2 separate regions of the Homo sapiens genome follow, and region 2 is linked to region 1. Evidence: promoter capture Hi-C in 16 types of primary human blood cells and fetal thymus (Javierre and others, 2016). All regions are on one chromosome and are shown on one strand. Each heading gives the region's core, a stretch centred on a gene start or on the middle of the fragment in contact. The rest is flanking DNA. Distances are from core to core; before and after follow the strand shown.

Region 1 (5,738 bases), core at 1,208-3,707:
TCGCTTCAGTTCCTTGTCTTGCCTCTCGCAATGGGCTTTCTGCTGACCAAGCCCATTGACTCATGGGCGTAGCCGACTAAAGCACTCGGCCAGGTGCAGAGTTTTTGGGCATTTCAATGGTGGGGGTCTCCCCACAGCTTGCACTGCTAGTTTTTCTGTTTGTTCTTGATGACGAACTCTCTACTGTTTATACAGTAGCAGAACTCACAGAAGCATAACTTACGTTTCACAGCCTCCAGAGTGGACTTTACATAAACACGATGTTTCTGTTAGGCCGGCTTTATCTTCCCTCTAGAGTCTGTCAGTGGTGCTTTGGAGTATTCGACTGGGCCACTGTGCAGGGTTGGGGAGTGGTGTCACAAGCCTTCCCTAACCCACCATCTCTGACCTGCACCCCAGGGCATGCACATGAACGGAATTCATCTTCTTGGTTTGGAAAAGAAGGGGGTGACATTAGTGGCGAAACCTCCGTGTAGAGCTCTCGCACCGCAACTCTGAGTCATAGCTTACATCGATCAAGCACTCACTCTGAAGCAGGCTCGGGGCTAAACCTTCACAACCATTGACTCTGTGCTACAGAGGAGACAGTGATCTTCACAGAAGTTAGTTCCCAGAGGGCTTTCCCCAGCCCCACCATTGGGAGCAGAGGGGCAGGGCTGAGCCCAGTCTCACTCGAGTCCTGCTCACACCTTCCTCCAGGACTGCACGGGCCACCTCGCCCAGCCCTCATGGCAATGCTGAAGGCAGGTGTGATTCTCGCCATTTTACCCAAGGGGAAAGGGAGGCACCGGGGGAAAGGGAGGCTGGGAGCGGCAGACCTCACAGCTAGGAAGTGGCCAAGGCAGGAAGAAGCCCACCGGCCTTTCAACACCAACAGAATTCTTTCCTCAGAAGGAATGAGGGAGGGTGGAGGGGTAAGGACATGGCATTTTTAATCCTCCTGTTGGACTGGGAGGCTCTCAAGGTCAGGGACAGTGTCTGATTCAGCACCCCACCCCCTCGGGCCCTCAACTGGCCCCACTCAGGATGTCACAAGGCCCCGTGTGCTGCTGGAGGGGGTCCCAGGGTCGGTGACAGGCAGACCACAGCCTCTGGCCTGGAAGGAGGAGAGAGGGATTGGCAGGCCCATCCAGGCTGGGGGTCTGAGGAACTGTGAATGAGGCCGTGAACAGAGACCGCTGGGGTCCAGCAGGCCTGGCTGCAGAAGGGAAGCTCTGCGCAGTGGAAGGCAGGACCCGGTGGCAGCCCTGGGAGCAGGCCCCGCTGGCCCCTGGGAGAAGACCTCCATGGGCCTCAGCACGACACTCCTAGGCTGGCAGCCGAGGCCTGGTTCACGTGATCCCTTGATTTGTGTTTTCTGACCTTTCTTCACAGACACTCTAGGAAGCCTGGGGACACAGAGCCTGCCAGGGGAAGTCACACTCTCATGAAAGAGCTAGCCAGCAAGAAACTAGAACCGTGGACATGTAAGATAGGCACATGCGTGGCGAGTCCGAAGCGGGAAGCAAGCAGAGGGTGTGACAGAATACTGAGGGGGCCAGGGAATGGCTCTTCCAGAGGAGACTTCTGAGTGGGAGACAGGAGCAGGGGAAGGAGCAGCATGAGCTCTGGGAAGAAGGCATTTTTGGCAGCGAGCAATGCAAGTGCAAAAGCCCTGAGGCATGAAAAACACTAAAGAATCTGTAGGAGGCCAAGGTGGCCAAGCAAAAGGAGAAAGAGGGACTCCGGCAAGAGATGGGCATTTCTCAGGACTGCGGTGGCAGGGAAAAGAGAGCCCCCTGAAGGACATTCCACATTCAAACCCCTGCCCTGTGGTGACCCTGCCAGGTGGCTGGGTCAGGATCTTCCCTGTCAGGCCCAGGCCTCGTTTGCATGATGATGGGAGTAGCTTCCCACGGTCTGGGCTCTCCTTCCCCATGTTCTCCTGTTCCCCCAATTCCCATCACCCAGATTCCAGGAGCCAGGACTGGTGTCTCCCCTACTGGAGGTTCCCAGAAAGTCTCAGAACTCCCACTGCAGTCCTGGGACACAGGGGCTGGGGGAGGAAGGAAATTCTCACACAGCTTTCTCCCAGGGAGTTTGCTCTTGTTCCCAGGCTGACAACTGGCAACCCTCAGAACTCTGTTCCCCACCCCCTTCCTCCTCCTCCTCCTCCTCCTCCTCCTCCTCCTCCTCCTCCTCTCCCTGCCTCCCTCTCTCCCCTGCCCCCCTTCTCAGGCTTAATGACTTCCACATGGGCCTCTGGTGGCTGGAGCCAAGGCTCCCAGCATTGTCTGAAATCTCCAAATTTAGAAGAAATATGAAAATTGTCAACCACTCCTTCCTTAGGGGGTAAAAGCAACATTCAGCACCGGGGGCAGGTCAAGGCAAGGTAGTCACGTGGGGGGTGCCTGGGCCAATGGGGGGCCCTGGGAGGGCTCAGCACCCGCCTCGCCCCAATACGGGGCTTGCCTCTTCAGCTCATATAAGGTAAAAGGCAGAGTGGCCTCTGTGGCCAGGGAGCCGCAGGCAAGGGACTAAGGGGAGGGGGGCTCAGTGCCAGCTGCTTAAAAATGCCCCTGTGGCAGCGAGGGGCACCAGAGGCTGGGTCTAATTAGTTGAGAAGCAGTGACACCCCCAACCACTCCCCAAACAGGCTGGCTCCCGTCTCCAGGCCCCAAGGAGCCACACCTGGACCAGACCCCAGGAAAGGTAAGCACCAACGGCAGACCTGGGATCCGTGGGTGGGGGCCTCTGGGAATTTCCCTAGGGGGATGCTGCATCTGGGGGTCTTGCTGTCTTGCTAACTGGCTCTGTCCCTTTCTGGACACAGATTCTCTGGGTCTCAGTTTCCCCATCTGTACAGGGGCTGGAGTCAATGATCTCTAAGCATCCATCCAGCTGATCGGCTCTAGTTCTATGGTCCTGTTGGCTTCTAGGATTCCTTGTTGTTGTAGTCAATTGGGGGAAGAAGGTGCAGAGGGAGTGCACAGAGTTAACATCCTATCAGCCCAAGCTTCACCTCGGCACCCGAGTCTCAGGCAGTCTCCCTGGCTTCTACATAGGCAGTGCTTCTTCCTCATTGTGTGGGGCTTTGATTTTGTAATTCCAAGAGCCTGGGGCTCCTGGCAAGGAAAATGGTTTTCAAATAATGGTTTCGAGAAACAAAGCTGGGGAAGAGGCAATGTAAGCTCAGGCTCTGGCAGGCAGGCAGAGATCCTGGGAAGGCTGGGTGCTGACTGCACATGGAGCAATGGGAAGGGATGCTGGTGAGAGGAGACGGGGGCACTTAAGCTCCGGCCCCAGCTCTGCTCTCAGTGCCCGGCTCTGTGGTCTTGGGCTGGCCCCCTCCCTTCTCTGGGCCATAGTTTTCCCATCTGTATAGCAAGGCCATTGGACAAAATGGTCCCTCTGCAGATGTGGCTTCTGAGTTGTTTGTGCCTGAGGGACAGCCAGTGTTGGGAAGTTCCCCCAGGAGGTCCCTGAGCCGAGTCTGAACTTTGACCACAAGCTTGGAGTCCAAGCAGATGAAGTCCTGTGGGAGCTTTTGGAGGTTGAGCCTGAGTGAGGGAGAGTAGCTGAAGGTTCTGTGACTGAAGGCTTGGCCAGAGGGGTGCCCCGAGCCCTCCAGATGAACTTGGCTGCAACCAGCCTCTGGTGGGGAAAGGACTGATCTCTGGATTCAACCACACAGGAATGTGGGACATGGAAGTAGGTAAGGGATGGAAAAGATGGCAGAGGGCTTCGCGGGATGAAGCAGTGGGGCCAGGGGACTTAGAGGAATGCAGGAGGCTTGTGATGGGAGGCAGGGCTGGGTAGAGGCAGGGGCTTAGGATTGGAACTTGAAGATGTACAGACAGCATGGAGTCGGGCTCCTCTGAAAACACTCTGGCCACATCCGGAGCCCAGAACAGAACAGTCCTCTAGCACCGGCCTCTGTCTTGTACCCTCCACCTTCCCGCTTCTTGTCACACAAGACCCAAGGCCATCATGGTTCAGAAGGAGGCTCTGAATTCAACTGCCTGGGTCCAATTCTGGCTTGTTTACTTACTGGACAAGTGACCCTGGGCAAGTTGCTTGCTGTTTGAGCCTCAGCTTCCTCCTCTGTAAAATGGGTACAATTCTGAGCTTGCATGGTTGTCATGAGGAGTGAGGGATGTAGGCACATAGAGCAGGATGAATGGGGCTGATGTTACATCGCAGTCAGAGCCCACACCTCCTGCGGGCAAGATACCCTGAGCTATGTTGAGGGAGAAGTGGGAATGAAACCCGGCCAGGGAATGCCCAGAGTTGCTGAAGAGCTCTGGAACAGGCTCTGGAAAGAGGCAGGAGGAATCAAAAGTCAGAGGCTGTGGGACACAGGAAAGTGATCAGCTTGAGATGCCTGAAGGACTGGGGGGGATCTCCTTTCCTGCCTTTCTAGGGCATTGTGTGGGCAATGTATCTGAACCACTGTGCACTCACCCACTGACGGGGGACCCCAAGTGAGGCCTAGGAATCTGCATTACAAGCACCCCATGAATTCCCATGCATGTGGAAGTTTGCGAAATGCCAGGCTGTAGGGCGGCCTAGGACTCTCACAAACTGCCGAGGCAACGGAATCCACAGAGAGAAAGCACTGCTTTAGGTTATTTAGCGAGCTGATGGCAGAGGTGGAACAGAACCTGCCTCTCTGCCCAGCCAGGGATTCCATAAGGTGGTGCAAATCAGGAGAAATAGATGACACTATTTGTGGAGTTCTTATGAGGTCCAGGCACTACCTCAGATCTTCACATGAACTAATTCATTTAATCCTCACAAGAGCCAGTGAGGAAGGGGCAATTATTATCCCCACTCCACAGATGAGGTACCTGAGGCAAAGAGAGTTTAGGTGGCTTGCCTGAGGTCACACAGCTCATGAGTTGTTAAGTTGTGTGTGCCAGCTGCCCCTGGGGCTGCTAACTCCCCCAGGAGTCTCCCACCTCCTGCCCTGCCTCTTAGCTACCTCAAAACTTCCTGGAGACCCTCCAACAGACCTCATGGAAGGGGGCAGAATATGTATGGGAGACTTCTGGGAGTCAGACACTGTGCTGAACAGCTTGCATTATCATTTAATCCTCCCAGGATTCCTGTGAGGCAGGAATCAGCATCATTCCATCACCCTCACTTTCTAGAGAAGGAAACCACTGCAGATTACCCAATGTCACGCAATTAAAAAGTGGTGAAGGGGATTTGAACCTAGTCTATGCATCTGCAGAACGCACACTCTTGGGCTGCCCACCCCGACACCTCTGAGGGCAGTGATGAAGAATCCCACCTCACAGAGGAGACGGAGGCCAGGAGTGAGGCCCTGCCGGAGCCTGAGCCCAAGCCTTCTAGCTCTGAGGCCACTGCTCTCCCTTCAACCCTGTTGCTGCCCCGCAACAGAAAGTTTGTCATTGGTCCCTCACAGCCACACCACAGCCCTTTGGGCAAAATCAGCCCCTTCCCAGCCTGGCCAGTTCTGGGGGAAAATGACACCTGACACCTGACACCTATCCATTTTTTTTTTTTTTTTTGAAATGAGGTCTCCCTCTGTCAACCAGGCTGGAGTGCAGTGACTCTTCTCAATTGACTGCAACCTCTGCTTCCCAGGCTCAAGTGATCCTTCCACCTCAGCCTCCCAAGTAGCTGGGATTACAGATGTGTGCCACATCTGGCTAATTTTTTGTGTTTTTTTGTAGAGACAGGGTTTCGCCATGTTATCCAGGCTGGCCTCAAACTCCTGGGCTCAAGTGATC
Region 2 (5,694 bases), core at 2,653-5,152, 530 kb after region 1:
CCGATGTCGGCATCTGCCTCCACTTAATTGCCTGGGTGAGCTCTGGAATAGATAAATTGCAGCAAAGCTTTACACACAACTTTCAGTACATTTTTTGAGAATCCCTGAAGTTGGCAACTTTCTCCTGGACTCTCAACCCACATAGAAATTTCTTTATCACTGGCCTTCATCACCTCATCAGTTTCTTTTCATGTACACTTTTTTTCTTTCCAAATGACTAAGGAAAGTACAGATTGTTTTCACTCACCTGTGCCCTAGATTGACTTTTCCCCTTTAAAGGCTGATACTCCTCAGTAGAGACCTATGTAAGACTTTCTACAACCATCCCAATTCACCCAGCCTCTTCCCCCGTGCAATTGAATGTGTGCCAAGACTCTAGCCGTCAGTCAGTGTCTGTTTAATCTTTTCTTGGAAATGTCTGTTGCTGAAGTTTTCTCACCTTCTGCTTGGTCATGTCTAAGAGACCCACAGAGTATCTGTCACAGTTGAGGAAAGCACGGACTGTGTACAGGGCTTTGTGGAACTGTCGTTCGATGTCCGTAAGTTCTTCAAAGACTTTGCTCCCAGACCACAGCAGTATCTGAAAAAACACAAAAACATATTCATAGGTTTTGAGGTGCAAAGTAGTAGCTCACTTAGCTGGAGAATAACAACAATTCTGTAAAGTTGTCTGGAGTTTATTTCATTTACCCTTCACAATAATCCAGAGAAATAGACAGGTTAACTATCCCCTATTTTTACTTTTAGATTTTTTTAAAGTTTTTAATTTTTTTTTTTGCTTTGGTTGACAGTTTATTAAATACACTACATTTGTACCTTATTCTGTAGTTTTTAAAAATTGTTCACACATGAACTGAGTAAAAACGTACTTTATAGAAAACCAAGTACAAAACTAAAATGAAAGAATGCACTTATTGCACACATATTAAACTGCTGAAATGTTAGAAATTAATCTGTACAAGTACCTAATGAAGAAGGTTATGAAATATTAGGTGGTTCGAGTTTCTCAAATCTGGCAACAGACCATGACTTTGAAAGTGTTAATGTTGAAGTGTTGATGGAAAAATGTCTATTAACAAAACTGCTTACAGTGTTTGAGAAACACGACAAAATAATTGTTTTTCTTTCACAGACATTTTTCTAAATCAATTCTCTACAGACTCTCTCCCATTCAGAATCAGTTGTGTGGACCGATGAGGCAAAAGATGAATTCCTTTTAAAAAACAAAACTGGAGCCTATTTACAAAACATGCAAAAGGAGAATTTTAAGCAGGTGTTACCTCCAGAGTTTCTGGAAGAAATATATTTTCAGGTTGTGGACTATAAAATGGCGTACAATGAAGAGACAGAAACAAAGAAGTTTGCAAATCTTTTATATTTCCAGCTGTTGAGATAATATTTTTGAGAGCTGATGTTACCTCTAGCGGCAAAACCAGAGCCAGCTATTAAGCAGCCAGAAAGCTACAGTAATTGAATACACGACCATTTCTCTTTTAGCACGTTCTTTGTTCTCCTCGTCCGGAAGTTGTAGACGTCTATTTAGTTTGATTATCTGTCGTCTTAGTGAAGCTGCATCTACAACAGTCAGGTCATCTGATGTTCCTTCAATTGTTGTATCTGTATTTGAAATGCCATAAAGAGAATCATTTCTGACCAGCTGTCCATTTTGGCGAACAGCAGTTTCACTCGTAGACCGCTCTCTTTTTAGTCGGCCAACTGCACGGATTTCTTCATTTTGAGGGGTTGTAGGAGGTCTTTCTAAATCCAGAAAATCTAGTGGTCTTTCACTTAGCCTAAGTACACGAGGTGCTGTTTTTAGTGCGAGGAGTTTAAAGGGAGTTGACTGAATAAGGTCAAGATCTGCTGGTCTTGAAAATGAAACATCCTCATTATTTCCTGCTACAACAATCCTCTCTGGAACTTGCATTATTATCACGCTAGCATTTGGAACTCCTTTTTGGAATCCCTGTTCCAGGTTGGCGTTTGGCGGTGCTACTTTTAACTTTTCTGGGACCCTCATTCGCTGACTAATGCCTTCAGTATATTCCATTTCGTACGAATTCGACTAATTTCTGCCATCTCAGCAGCAGTGGGAGAAGGAAATGCTGCCCCACTCACCAAATGTGTACCAACTACTGCTTGCTGTTTGGCACTGTCGGCTTCTGTGCTTCATATTAAATCCTTTAACTTGCTTCAATGTGCATGTGCTGGATTGAGAGACACTTTTGTCCCCCTCCGCCCACAGGAGGGTCCCGGTGAGGACCGCCGCCCTCCGGCTCCCAGGGCGCTCAAGTGGGCGCTCTCAGAGGCAGTTGGCCGAGAGCACGGAGGCGCCCAGGCACAGCACCGGCGGAGTGGCCAGCAGAGGGCCAGGGCAGAAGCGCAAAAGCTAAAGTGTTTGTTTTTATGTATTTATTTTTTAGGGACAGAGTCTTACTCTGTCATCCAGGCTGGAGTACAGTAGCACGATCATAGCTCACTGTAGTCTCCAACTCCCGGGCTCAGGCAATTCTCCCATCTCAGCCTCCCCAGCAGCTGGGACTACAGGTGGACGCCACTGCACACAGATAATCTTTAAATTTTTTGTAGAGATGAGTTTCCACTTCTGGCCTCAAGCAATCCTCCTACCTCAGCCTCCCAAAGTGCTGGGATTATGGGCATGAGCCACCTTACCCAGCCCATTATCATCCATTTATTTTAAAAATTTTATTTTAAAAATAGAGATGGGGTCTTACTATGTTTCCCAGGCTGGTCTCGAACTTCTGGGCTCAAGCAATCTTCCTGCCTTGGCCTCCCAAAGTGCTGGAACTACAGGCGTGAGCCACCATGCCCAGTCCAATTATCTTCCATTTGTAGACAAACAAACTGGGGCTCAGAGAGATGAAGTAACTGGCTGCTTTACATTGGGTCCAGCTCTTTCCCTTTCATTTATCTCATAGGTTTTTAATAAAAATAATAAGAAACTTCAATTGAGCACTATTGCCCTATATGCATTATCTCGTTTACTATTGATGGCAACCTTTTGAGGGTGGCACCATAATCATCCCTATTTTTCAAATGGGGAGACTGAAGCATAGAGAGATTAAGTGACTCACTTAGGGTCTTAGAGCTAGGCAGTGGTTGAGCAGGGATTCAGATCAAAGCCATCTGTCTTGAAGCTTGTGCATATAACCACTGTGGTATACAGCTTTACAGACAACCACTACCTCATAACACTCGTGATGCTGGCCAGAGACTGGCTTCCTAGGCACCTTCATTCCCATCTGCCTGCCAGTCCTGACCACATCAATGCTTCAGGGAAAGGACGAGTCAAGTCCATTCCCTTGGCCCAAGCCCCTTACCTGGCCACGTCGAGTTTCACAGTTGTGCAGGTAACTCAGGTGGTACACCTTCATGATTAGATTTGCAAAATTGAGGTACTTGAGAAGAATCTAAAAATCAAACAGCATGAGGGGAGGCAGGTGAGAAGAAGAAATCCATCCTCTGGCTACTTTTACCATCAGCAAATATCTGAATATTTTCAAAGCTTCATCAGAGACAATTTGGGCAGATGGATCCTAGAATGCAGACTCATAAGATGTTGCATGAGCATAAAACTCACCGAATGTAGAATGTTGATGTTGATGGGAGTGTATTCATGAAAAATAGCTACTATTTATTAATAAGTTCCCTATGAGGTTGATACTGAAAAATTATCAACATTTTACAAATAAGAAAACCAAAGTTCAAAGAAGTTAAATAACTTGCAAAAGGCAAACAGCTATTGGCGGAGCCAGAACAATTATCCCTCTATTCCTGACTCCAAAGCCCAATGTCTTAACTATTATTTTATCCTGCCTCCCTCAGAGAACATCAGGTGAATTCCCTGTCTTACAGATGGGAAAACTGAGGCCAGGTCAAACAGCAAAGTTCAGGGGACTTCATAGGCTGGGAGAATGTGCTAGCATGGCTATCCTTAGTCTCTAAAGCATTCTTACCTCTTCATCTCTCTTGGTGAAGTGGGATCCATCCACTTTATTCACAGCCATGATTATGGCCACCACATCCTTCCCATTCATTATGGGGGAAGCCAAGATGTTCTTGGTCTTGTACTCTGTGAGGATGTCCACAAAGTCACAGAAATGCTCATCCTAAAGGAAGGCAGAGATAAGCACGGACAGGCAAATGAAGAGCAAGAACAGTGGAACGGCCCAAAGCCCCTGTTGACAAGGGAATAAAGGTGCTTCCATCTATTCCTCTTCAACAGGGGCAGGGAAATCAGAGATGACATCTGTCATGGAAGCTTCCAAAATCCAGTAGAAGAAGAAAGTCTGAGATGAAATCCACTGAGGGCTGTGGAGGAGAGGTGTGCAAAGCAGTGTGGGTTCCAGGGATGGGAGTGGGGGACTGACTTTGCCTGGAGAAGGAGGGTTAGAGAAGGCTTTCTTGAGGTGATGACAATTAAGCCCAGAATAAAAACCCAGGGTACAGCTAAGAGGAAGCCGGGTAAAGACTTTAGGAAGTACAACGACAGTTGCTAGCAGGCAGCGTGCATGGCATTTTACCTGCGTTATCTTACTTTTATCTTCGCAATAAGCTATGAGATAAGTACCATCAGTAGCCCATCTTACAGAAGGGGGATCTGTAACTCAAGAAGGTTAATGTCATGTGTGTAGATTGTGTAGACTGTGTGTGTGAGTGTGTGTGTGTGTGTGTATGTGTAACTCCAGAGCCTGCCTTCAGCTCTGCTGCCTCTTAGAGAAGCCTGGATAAGGTTAGACTTGGGTCTAGGTCATTGAACAAAAGAATTTGTTATTTTCAGCTTTTTAAACAATCCAGTTCTAGCACCACACAACCAGTTCAGTAGATATCCCCATTCTACGAATCTTAGTAGAAACCCCACTATGTGTCAGGCCTTATGTTAAGCACGGGGGATATGGGTGACCAAGGTTCAGGCCAGCTCAAAGAAAAATCAATAATAGTAATGTAGGTCACAAGGGATTGGCTTGAAGCTCTGAGTGTATAGAGGAGCACACACCTCCATAAACCTCCCCTAATGCAGCCCAGAGAAGCCATTATAGGCTGTGGTGGACCATGCGGTCAGGATGAAAAGACAGAGCTTGAATTGTTCTCTTAAATTTACAAGAATCCTCCTTTCTGTTTATTGGTAGCACTGTGAGGTTTTTGGACTGTCAGCATTGCTTGGGAGGCGGGCCAGCCCAAACATGCTCAGCTCACGCCGTTCTGAGTGGAAATGTACTTCATAGAGCCAATTCACAGAACTTTTCTAAAACTAAGTCTGGGCCAGGCGTGGTGGTTTACGTCTATAATCCCAGCACTTTGGAAGGCCAAGGTGGGAGTATTGCTTGCGTTCAGTAGTCCAAGACCAGCCTGGGCAACATAGCAATATCTTGTATCTACTAAAACTCAAAAAAAATTAGCCAGGTGTGGTGACATGTGCCTGTAGTTCCAGCTACTCAGGAAGCTGAGGCAGGAGGATTGCTTGAGCCCAGGAGTTGGAGGCTGCAGTGAGCTATGATTGTACCATTGCACTTTACCCTGGGTGACAGAGCAAGACCCTGTCTCTAAAAAAGGAAGGAAGGAAGGAAGGAAGGAAGGAAGGAAGGAAGGAAGGAATTCAGAGCATAATGCTCTGCATCTATAGATTTCTTCTAGTTGGAATGGGATTAAATAAATAGTCAACAGCATTATTAT

Evidence for each region. The method cuts DNA at HindIII sites, captures the fragments that hold promoters and counts their contacts. A CHiCAGO score of 5 or more calls a contact.
Region 2: a contact is called between a fragment that was not itself captured here and the fragment with the promoter of CARMN in region 1, in 1 of 17 cell types (M1 macrophages). The highest score is 5.6, in M1 macrophages.

Annotation. Positions count from the first base shown.
Region 1 is chr5:149,404,388-149,410,125 of GRCh38, forward strand. CARMN (cardiac mesoderm enhancer-associated non-coding RNA) reads left to right here and starts at 2,458. Exons shown (of 5, transcript NR_105060.1): 1 at 2,458-2,691. RefSeq lists enhancers at 506-1,096, 2,947-3,947. The HindIII fragment of the contact is 6,163 bases long and covers 1-2,993 here.
Region 2 is chr5:149,930,589-149,936,282 of GRCh38, forward strand. PDE6A (phosphodiesterase 6A) reads right to left here. Exons shown (of 22, transcript NM_000440.3): 2 at 3,978-4,130; 3 at 3,342-3,431; 4 at 440-580. It also overlaps the pseudogene MFFP2. Among named protein-coding and RNA genes, the nearest start is that of PDE6A, 11 kb to the right of the region's middle. The HindIII fragment of the contact is 756 bases long and covers 3,525-4,280 here.